2 separate regions of the Homo sapiens genome follow, and region 1 is linked to region 2. The links are contacts of gene promoters, found by promoter capture Hi-C in blood cells and fetal thymus (Javierre and others, 2016). All regions are on one chromosome and are shown on one strand. The core of a region is centred on a gene start or on the middle of the fragment in contact, and the rest is flanking DNA. Distances in the headings are between cores, read along the strand shown.

Region 1 (5,447 bases), core at 818-3,317, 110 kb after region 2:
AAGAATGAAATCATGACATTTGCAGCAATGTGGATAGAACTGGAGGCCCTTATGTCAAGTGAAATAAGCCAGACACAGAAAGACGAATTTTACATGTTCTCATTCATATGTAGGAGCTAAAAAAGTTGATCTCATGAAGGTAGTGGGTAGAAGGACTGATACCAGAGGCTGGAAAAAGTGTGCTGGTGGGAGGTAGTGATGAAAAGAGTTTGATCAATAGGTATAAACATACAGTTAGATAGAAGGTATAATGTTTCATAGCAGAGTAGGGCTTTTACTACAGTTAGCAACAACGCATTGTATATTTCAAGGCAGTTAGAAGAGAGAACCTGAAATGTTCTCCAGGTTATGGATACCCCAAATACCCTGACTTGATCATTACACATTCTATACATGCAACAAAATACTTATAAACACAAAAGAAGTCAGGAAAGAAAAAAATAGAGAAACAGAGCAGATGGGACAAACAGAAAACAAATAGCAAGCTGGTAGACTTAAACACAACCATACCAGTAATTACATTAAATGTAAATGAATTAAACACTGCAATTAAAAGACAAAGATTATCATACTAGATAAAGACCAAAACCCAACTACACACTGTTTATAAGAGACATGCCTTAAATATAAAGATACAGTGTTATGGACTAAATTGTGCTCCCCCACACCCAATTCCTATGTTGAAGCCCTAACACTCAATATGACTATATTTAGAAATAGGGCCTTTAAAGAGCTAATTAAGGTCAAATTAGGTTATAAAGGTGGGGCCTTAACGTGATAGGGCTGGTTCCCTTACAAGAAGAGAGAGAGACACTAGAGATCTCTCCATATATGAGCACAGAGGAAAGGCCCGTGAGGACCCAGCAAGATGGTGGCTATCTACAAGCCAAGTTGAGAGGCCTCACCAGAAATCAACCCTGTTGGCGCCTTTATCTTTGATTTAGAACCTCCAGAACTGTGGGAATAAATGTCTGTTGTTTATGCTATTCAGTCTGTGTATTTTGTTACAGCGGACCAAGTAGACTAACACATACACATAGGGTACAAGTAAAAGGATAGAAAAGGCTGGGCGCAATGGCTCACACCTGTAATCCCAGCACTTTGGGAGGCCGAGGCGGGTGGACCACTTGAGGTCAGAAGTTTGAGGCCAGCCTGGCCAACATGGTGAAACCCTGTCTCTACTAAAAATACAAAAATTAGCCAGGCATGGTGGTGCGTACCTGTAGCCCCAGCTACTCTAGAGGCTGAGGTTGGAGAATAGCTTGAACCCAAGTGGCAGAGGTTGCAGTGAGCCAAGATTGCACCACTGCACTCCAGCCTGGGCGACAGAGCTAGACACTGTCTCAAAAAACAAACAAAAACCGCATTCAGTAGTTAAGCTATGAGATAAGTTAGGTGTATTAAGTGTATTTTCAACTTATGATATTTTCAACTTATGATGGGTTTATCAGGATGTAAGCCCATCATAAGTTGAGGAGCATCTGCAGTGTACTTTTTCCTTCTAACTGCTTTCAATGTTGTTGTTGTTTTTTTCTCATTAATTTTCCAAAGCTTGATTTTAATGTGTCTTGCTGTGGATTTTGTCAGGTATATCTGTCTATGGTTCTCTCAGCTTCTCAAATCTATAGGTTTATGCCTTTTATCAAATTTGGGAAGTTTTCAGCCAGTAACTCTTCGAATATTTCTTGTAGTTCCACACTCTTTCTCCTCTCCTTCTAGCACTCTGATGACAAAAAAAGTTAGATCTTTTACAATTGTCCCACAGTCCTGGAGCCTCTGTTAATTTCTTTTCCATCTACTTCTCTCTGTTATTCAAATTATATACTTTCTATTGCTTTAAGTTCACTGATCTTTTTATCATTTCCATCTAGTATTGAGTGCATCCAGTGAATTTTTATTTCAGCTATTATATTTGCAATTCTATAATTTCTATTTAGTTCCTTTTTAGATCTCTTATTCCTTTGCTGAGATTTTCTGTTTTTTCCACTTGTTTCAAGAATGTTTGTAACTACTCATTGAAACATTTTTATGATGACTGCTCTAAAATCTTTGTCAGATAATTTCACCATCTCACTGTTTGGCGTATATTGACCTCCTTTTACCATTCGAGTTGTGATTTCCCAGGTTCTTGGTATGATGAGTAATTTTCAGTTTTGAGTATGCGTATCTGTATTCTATTTAAATCTTCTAGTTTAGCAGGCAGTTTCTCTATTTGGGTTTCTTGTGCAGCTCCTGATCTACTTTTAGGAGTTGTAGTTCCAATAATAATTTCATTTTCAGAGCCCTTACAGTACTATTTGGGTCTGCCTTGCTTGTGTGCTACTTAGAGGTCAATGTGAAAATGTAGGCACTATTCCACACTGTAGTTCAGTTCTCAACCCTTCTGTCATGTTAATTTTGGTCAGTATAATGTACGAGTCACTCTGGGTTCTTTCCAGGACTCTACATACAAGTTTAAAGCATTGCTTTCTCCAGCTCCCTCCTCTCTAAAATTCTCCCCCACACCATCACTCCCTATTTGGGAAGGGGAGAAGTACTACCTTATTATTGCTTTTAATTCCAGGGTGGGAGGTGATGGATATCCAAGCTTACCACTTGGTCTCCACTGACACCACACTTACGACAGAAGGGGAGTATCATCTGCTACCTCTGGGCAGGAGATGAAAGTCTAGGCTTCCCATTTGGCCTCTTCTGGCACCACCCTGGTGAGGAAAGGAAATCACTCCCTGCTACCACTGGGCAGGAACTGAAAGCTCAGGGTACTCATTCAGCATCTGTTGATAACACCTTGATGGGGAAGAGAAGCACTGCTTGCTACCACCAGCCAGAGGATGTGTAGGCTTCCCTTTCAGCCTCCAAGCAAGGGGGTGGCATATTCTTCCTCCATGTATTTGGCTGGGGTAGGGTGGTATTGTTGTTGAAAAGTTCTGTTCTTTTAGATTGCCCCTTTTCCTGTCCTTTGGCAAGAGATAACAGGCTTTTCTTATCTGCACCCATTGGTATTTCTGGGTTGTGGGCTTCTCCAGAGCCCACTTCAGCTTATAAAGAAACAAAAAGAAAACCCAGAGAAGCCGGGCACGGTGGCTCACACCTGTAATCCCACCACTTTGGGAGGCCGAGGCGGGCAGATCACAAGGTCAGGAGATTGAGACCATCCTGGTTAACATGATGAAACCCCGTCTCTACTAAAAATACAAAAAAATTAGCCGGGCGTGATGGTGGGCACCTGTAGTCCCAGCTACTCGGGAGGCTGAGGCAGGAGAATGGCGTGAACCCAGGAGGCGGAGCTTGCAGTGAGCCAAGATCGCGCCACGGCACTCCAGCCTGGGTGACAGAGCGAGACTCCGTCTCAAAAAAAAAAAAAAAAAGAAAAAGAAAACCCAGAGAAATCACCACAGGGTCATTTCTCAATTCTTGAGGTCCCTAGTCAGTCAGCTCTCTTCTTCTAACCCTTTAGTCTTCTTATGTTTATTTGCTGTGTATGTCCAGGGTTTTAAATCTGAACTGAATAGGAAGAACAGGCAGAAATAAGTCTTATCAGGAACTGAAGACCCCTCATCTAAGCATTAAAGAATAGTTAATACTAATCTTAAATGCACTCTTTCAGAGAATAAAGGAGTATTTCCCATCTGGTTTTATGCAGCTAATACAACTATCTCTATTTGCCAATGATATAATCTTGTATATAAAAATTATAAGGAATCCACTAACAAACTGTCAGAACTAATAGAAGCATTCAGAAAGAATGCAGGATACAGATCAATAAACACAGATCAATTTTTTTTTTTTTAATTTTTGTAGCAATACAGAGTCACTATGTTGCCCAGGCCAGTCTCAAACTCCTGGCCTCAAGTGATCCTCCTGCCTTGGCCTTCCAAAGTGCTGGGATTACAGGTGTGACCCATCATGCCTGGCCAAAAATTAATTGTATCTCTATACATTAAAAATGAACAATCAGAAAAGGAAATGAAGAAAACAATTTCATTTATAACATTAAAAACATAAAATACTTAGTAATAAATTTAACAAAAGAAGTGTAAGACTTGTACACTGAAAACTATAAAACATCAAATGAAAGAAATTAAATAAGACCTAAATAAATGGGAAGGCATCATGTATTCATGGACTTAATATTTTAAGATGGTACTATTCCCCAAGCTGATCTATAGATTCAATGCAATTTTTTTTTATTATTATACTTTAAGTTTTAGGGTACATGTGCACAACGTGCAGGTTAGTTTCATATGTATACATGTGCCATGTTGGTGTGCTGCACCCATTGACTCGTCATTTAGCATTAGGTATATCTCCTAATGTTATCCCTTCCCGCTCCCCCGCCCACAACAGGCCCCAGAGTGTGATGTCCCCTTCCTGTGTCCATGCGTTCTCATTGTTCAATTCCCACCTATGAGTGAGAACATGCGGAGTTTGGTTTTTAGTCCTTGTGATAGTTTACTGAGAATGATGATTTCCAATTTCATCCATGTCCCTACAAAGAACATGAATTCATCATTTTTTATGGCTGCATAGTATTCCAGGGTGTATATGTGCCACATTTTCTTAATCCAGTCTATCATTGTTGGACATTTGGGTTGGTTCCAAGTCTTTGCTATTGTGAATAGTGCTGCAATAAACATACGTGTGCATGTGTCTTTATAGCAGCATGATTTATACTCCTTTGGGTATATACCCAGTAATGGGATGGCTGGGTCAAATGGTATTTCTAGTTCTAGATCCCTGAGGAATTGCCACACTGACTTCCACAATGGTTGAACTAGTTTAAAGTCCCACCAACAGTGTAAAAGTGTTCCTATTTCTCCACATCCTCTCTAGCACCTGTTGTTTCCTGATTTTTTAATGATCGCCATTCTAACTGGTGTGAGATGGTATCTCATTGTGGTTTTGATTTGCATTTCTCTGATGGCCAGTGATGGTGAGCATTTTTTCATGTGTTTTTTGGCTGCATAAATGACTTCTTTTGAGAAGTGTCTGTTCATGTCCTTTGCCCACTTTTTGATGGGGTTGTTTGTTTTTTTCTTGTAAATTGGTTTGAGTTCATTGTAGATTCTGGATATTAGCCCTTTGTCAGATGAGTAGGTTGCGAAAATTTTCTCCCATTTTGTAGGTTGCCTGTTCACTCTGATAGTAGTTTCTTTTGCTGTGCAGAAGCTCTTTAGTTTAATTAGATCCTATTTGTCAATTCTGGCTTTTGTTGCCATTGCTTTTGGTGTTTTAGACATGAAGTTCTTGCCCATGCCTATGTCCTGAATGGTAATGCCTAGGTTTTCTTCTAGGGTTTTTATGGTTTTAGGTCTAACGTTTAAGTCTTTAATCCACCTTGAATTAATTTTTGTAGAAGGTGTAAGGAAGGGATCCAGTTTCAGCTTTCTACATATGGCTAGCCAGTTTTCCCAGCACCATTTATTAAATAGGGAATCCTTTCCCCA
Region 2 (5,638 bases), core at 1,802-4,301:
TCAGGGCTTGACCCCAGGGCTTTTGCCAGAACTGAAGACAGAGTTCTGAGGCCCACCTGGGGAGAGGGGGTGGGGCGCATCGCACTCCCAGACCTGTGCTCCATTCAGGCTTCAGTCTGCTTCCAGCCGCCCGCCTAGGGGGTCCTGGGGGCTTTGGGTTTGTGGTGGACGCCCCCTGAGTATGTCCCTTGTGCTTGTGTGGCAGGTTTGGTTTCAGAACAGAAGGGCCAAAGAGAAACGCCTGAAGAAGGATGCAGGGCGGCACCGCTGGGGGCAGTTCTATAAGAGCGTCAAGAGGAGCCGGGGCAGCAGCAAGCAGGAGAAGGAGAGCTCTGCAGAGGACTGTGGGGTTAGTGACAGTGAGCTGAGCTTCCGAGGTGAGCAGGGCTGGAGGGGCCAGGCCGAGGCCTTAGGAAAGTCCCCTGGGAATCTGTAATCCCTGGCACTCAGGAGGGATCTTTCTTGAGGCCTTGGCAACTCCCTCCTGAACACAGGCTTTTCCTTAAGACTTGCAGTGAAGGGTGGGGGAAATGGTAGTGGCCCTTTACCATGGGACAGGAGTAGGAAACAAGATTGCTGAGGTCTGGAAGCTGGGATGGGCCAGGCCCCGTCCTGTGGCCCCAAGGTCTCCCCTCCCCTCCTGCTGACTGGGGCCTCCCTCATCAGCCCACACAGCTATGAACAGATGACTGGGTTCCAGCCTTGTGCCCCTAGCCCCTCTCCCATCTTTGTCCCCTTTGCTGGGACACTGGCCTACTCCCATAGTCCCCTAGAGCCACCCCTTCCTCCAGTCCTGGTGGTGGGGAGGTCATGCTCCACAGGTTTTTTCCTGGGAAATCAGTACTGTGAGTGCATGTGAGATGGGGAACTGGCTTCACTTCCGAAATCCCTTTCCCCACCACTCACTTCATTCTGTCCCCTGCACACAAGCTTTGCAGCATGCACTATATTCAAATTCATGCATCAGCAAAATTGTAAATTACTGCATGTTATGAATCCTCAGGTTGTTTGCAAAGAATCATAACTGTTCTCAGGTACTGAGTTCTCAAATGTGGAAGGTCTTCTGCGGAGGGGGAAAGGGAAGAGTACTCAACTGGCGATCAGAGACCTGGTTTCCAGTGCAGCTCTGTCAAATCGATTCACTTCTCTTGAGCCCCAGTATTCCCAAGAGGAATACCATATCTTTGCCCATCTCACTGCGTTGTGGGGATCAATGAACACAACCAACTGTGGATGTGCTTGGGGAAAGCCTGGCACATTTGTATACCTGGAAGGCATGATCGTTCCCACAGGGAGCGTGTGGCTCCCGCAGAGGGCCCTGGTCATTTGGGATGACAGGTATAGGGAAAAGGCTAACTCATGGCCATTTGACAATGGAGTGGAGCCTTCATCTTCCTGCTCCCTTTAAAGAGCATGAGCTCCCCCCACCATGTTTTTTCATAAGGGGAATGGGGGGCAGGCCTCAGAAGGGATGGGGTGTTGAAGTCTAGTCTGGGGAGGCCTTATTTAGGGATTGGTGCAGAGGCCCAGGTGGAAATAGAAAAGGAAGTTTGTGGGACAGAGGATGGAACAAGTTGCCTGCCAGGACAACGATGCCCTGGGAGGACTCTAGTTCAGCCCAGAGGTCAGCTGAGCCCTAGAGGGCAGCCTCCTCTGAGAACACAGGGCCCGTGAGGCCTTGGGGACAGCTCATGGGACTAATACTCACCTTTTAGGCTTCTTGGCAGGATTGGGAAAGTCAATCTCATCTGGGCTGTTGAAGTCAACACCTAGAACATACTGGATTGTTAAGCTCATTTCTGTTGGGTGCAGGTGGGTCCCTGGGCTGACCTATCATTGGTTTCTCTGGGAATAATTTCTCAAAGACTAAAACTGCTCACCTCTGTTGGAGAGAGAAATTCTTTCAAGTGGCAAAGATTCCATTAGATCCCCTTAATGAAATTCTTTAAGAAAAAAGAAGGTTCATTTGCCTTAATCAAGTCAATTCTTTGTCCCCAGTGAAGAGCTTATTGAATACAGACAGAAACCAAGTCCTTTGATATTGAACCTCTCTTCCAGATAGACCAGAAGGATTTTGTACAGATGTCTAAGAGTGGTCCTCAGCTTCCCTGACCATATGGGCCTGCTTGCTTCCCAATCAACTAAACCAAGCCCTTTCTCAGCTTGAAAGCTTTCAGGGTAAATGTTGTCAGCATGTAGTTTCCATTTGTGATGTGGAGACATCTGACCCACCCAGCCTTAGGCATTCATCCTCCTCAGTGTAGCCAGAGTATTAGTACACGAGCCACAAGGGACCAACGAGCTCACCAAACATTTGTCCATCCTTCTGGGACCTGGGAATTTAGTCTTTGCAGGTGTTTCTTGTTTTTCTCCTTGGCCTGGGTTGGCCTCTGGATATCAGGCTGCCATATTGGTGTGTCTGACCCATGCTTGGCTGCAAGGCAGCTGCCATCCTTGGGCATCTTTCCTGGTCATGTGTGTTCCTAGGTTGTGAAGAGCAGGGGACCATCAGAGTCCTGGCAGCTGACAATAAATCTCCGTTCTTTTGTCCACAGAGGATCAAATTCTCTCAGAACTTGGCCACACCAATAGGATTTATGGCAACGTGGGGGACGTTACAGGCGGACAGTTAATGAATGGGAGCTTCTCCATGGACGGGACAGGACAATCCTATCAGGACTTGAGGGATGGGAGCCCCTATGGAATCCCCCAGTCTCCATCCTCCATATCGTCCCTGCCATCCCACGCTCCTTTGCTCAATGGGCTGGATTACACGGTGGACAGTAATTTGGGCATCATTGCGCATGCAGGGCAGGGAGTAAGCCAGACGCTGAGAGCCATGGCTGGGGGACCCACCTCTGACATCTCCACAGGAAGCAGTGTAGGCTATCCCGACTTTCCAACTAGCCCAGGCTCTTGGCTCGATGAAATGGATCATCCTCCTTTTTAAACTTCTCTCCTCCCCACCCTACCTGCCCCCCTGGCTTGAGAGAATATCTTCAAGGATCAAAAGAGACTTGCCTTTTAAGGATCGAAAGTACGCCAATGTGAATTTCCATTATTTTCAATGGAAGTCCTCCGCTGATTCCTAGAAGGCTGTGAGACCACACTAGGGCATTGTTTCCCTGGGGAAGCAGTGGGAGAGCAGACTCATCTCAGAACACAGCACAGGGGGTAATGGCCTAGAGCTCTAGGGACACTGGCTTGTTGGGTCTCTCCCCTGCTGTTCTGCTTAGGGGCTTGGCTGCTCAGTGCTTTGGTAGCACAAGGTGACTGTGATAGGCCCCCTTGGCCTTTGGGAACTTTGCTCCAACTGGTGTGTCTCACACAATGCCTCCCAAAACACTGCTCTCACCAGAACTGAGACTCCTAAGGTAGAGGCCTCACAGCCCTTGAGTAAAATAAAAGTGATTTCTGGACCATCCTTATTGAACCCTATATTTCAAAATGAAAAGATCAGTTATTAAAGGTCAGTGAACACTTTGATGGCCAGTTTGATATTAAAAACATGCCCCCTCCTTTTTTATTTTTGCTGTGAAGATATGAATTCTTTCCTACAAACCAGAGAATATGAACCTGTTTTGGTTTTTAAGTGTCCCATCTATATCATTGACTCTGATGGCAAGAGGTGGTTTTCATTGCAGGTGACTGAGGCTGAGCTGAGTAGCCCTGGACCACCGCTGCAGATTGCCTGAGTCGTCCCCTTGGTGCACAGTGTGCCTTCTTCAATTGCTTGTATCATTTATTCCACAAGACAGGCTGTGGGCTGTAAAATGAGCAAAACTAAAATGTGGGGAGAACAAAATGACAATCAATCAGTGAACATTTGTAGACACATTTGGATTCCAAACCTGCAGTCTGTTCAGCCATATCGGCTGATGCCAGTCTTCCAGAGTTCCCCATCCCTTGTAGGGTGAAATATTTGGAGTCTGTTTTGAAGGAGTTGGTTTAGATGAGCTTGCAAGTCTACCCCTCTGAAAGCTTTCTCTGCTGTCCTAGCTGACTCAATTGGAGGACAGTTTTGGTCATTTCCAGGAACCAGCAATTTTTTTTTGGCCTACCTTGGTTGGGAAGAGTAATTTAGGGAGCAGCCCTAAAATTGTCCAAAGGGTTCTAAGTGGTTCTTGGGCTGCATCTCTCTGGATTGCTGGCTGGACACCTGCCATGCCTTGGGCTGCAGTCCCATGGTCAGAAAGCCAGAACTCTCTGGCCAGTGGTGGTGCAGGGACTCCCCGTTGTGCAGGTTTGCAGTAGCAAATCACTAAGCCTGAGGCCAGAGCAAGGCCAACCCCCGCTTTACGAGTTGCCACTCCTGCGACAGACTGCACTGCTGTGGGAAACGCTGTCCTGAATGGTGCTGCAGCTCCCACCCACCTTGTGCACCCATCTACCATCAGGAAGCTCTCCATGTGCAAACTGGAATTTAGCCAGCTGGAATTTATTCCTGTCCCTCTGGGAAGCTGTGTTTGCTTCTTCTGGCCTCCCATTCTCTTAAATGAGATCAGCAGAGTAGGAAAGGGTGAGAAGGCATTGCCTATCACATGAAGTGATGGGGCCAGAGACCCTAAGGACCCTTCCTTCTACGAATGGTTGGTCACCTTTTGAGGACTGCAAAGACTTAGGCATGTCATAGGCAGACTAAAGGAAGAATACACAGTTCCTCTTGGACTGCTACATCTTTTGTAAGCCCTTTTCCAGGACTAAACTAAGTTCAATTAAGTAAGTTCTTTAAAACAGTAAATTCCGGGATCAGCCTTCGGGCCCTCTTCTCTGACCAATTTTATAGCGTACCCTCGTTTTTTGGTGTGCTGCAGTGGTCATGATTTTTGCTTGAGAAGTCTGCAAACATAGACACTTCTCTTGAGGTTCCATGTTTATGGATGATGTTGTGTTAATCCTAGCCAATTCTGTGCTATTGGGAATTCTCCAATCATGAACACTGGGGTGGGGAGGAAGACACAAATGCCATGTGAGGAAAGGAAAATGCAGTCGTCTTTTTGGAGGATGGCTTTTTAAATACACCCTTCTTAGCAGGCTGCTTAAAATACACAGGAGAAAAGGCTCTGCTGGGCAATGAACCAGATGAAAAGCTGCCCACCCAGATCACTGTTGCAGGTTGACTATTTGGCTTAGCAACTCATGGGATTTCAGAGGCCCTTGAAGTTTTTGGTGAGTATAGTGTGGGGGAGAGCAGGCTTTTTAAAAGGGGGGGGGGCATCCTCCTCTGTGTAGCACTGTTTAAGATCACTGTAAGTAAGTTGACCAGTTTTTGTAAGTTAATCATACTAATTCCCAGTTCAATAGTGGAAGGAGAGGCCTTCCTCATTTATACTAATAATATAATAAATCTCTTGAGGAACTCAGTGAGCAGTTGACGAGGTCAATAGTTCTTTGGCATCAGTAGGGCTGGTTAGCTGGAAAAACCCTTGAGAGCACTGGCCTGAAAACCAGGAGAGCTTTGTTTTCCAGAGCCACCTCCCCAGAAAGCAGCAAACACTGCTGCCTGTTTAGAAGCACAGCCACAGTAGGTCTAAGATTTTAAATGGATCTCCCTACAGGTTGGGTTAGCATTATGGGTGGGCTGGTGCCACTAATGAGCCATTGCATGACAGGACTCTTCTGGGGTTTGGAAATGGAG

The links. Contacts are between HindIII fragments. The CHiCAGO score rates a contact against its expected background, and 5 or more counts as called.
Region 1: a fragment that was not itself captured here is called in contact with the fragment with the promoter of LHX4-AS1 in region 2 in 5 of 17 cell types (M1 macrophages, neutrophils, M2 macrophages and 2 more); the score reaches 6.6 in M1 macrophages.

What each region holds. Positions count from the first base shown.
Region 1 is chr1:180,384,825-180,390,271 of GRCh38, forward strand. All of the region lies in intron 6 of ACBD6 (acyl-CoA binding domain containing 6), which reads right to left. Among named protein-coding and RNA genes, the nearest start is that of MIR3121, 51 kb to the right of the region's middle. RefSeq lists enhancers at 2,375-2,454, 2,566-2,625. The HindIII fragment of the contact is 1,036 bases long and covers 1,550-2,585 here.
Region 2 is chr1:180,271,630-180,277,267 of GRCh38, forward strand. It overlaps LHX4-AS1 (LHX4 antisense RNA 1), which reads right to left and starts at 3,052. Exons shown (of 5, transcript NR_037642.1): 1 at 3,022-3,052; 2 at 2,308-2,483; 3 at 1,709-1,769; 4 at 984-1,063; 5 at 1-342. It overlaps LHX4 (LIM homeobox 4), which reads left to right. Exons shown (of 6, transcript NM_033343.4): 5 at 206-377; 6 at 2,556-5,638. The coding sequence ends at 2,950. It also overlaps a transcript of ACBD6 not described here. RefSeq lists an enhancer at 1-812. The HindIII fragment of the contact is 1,811 bases long and covers 2,169-3,979 here.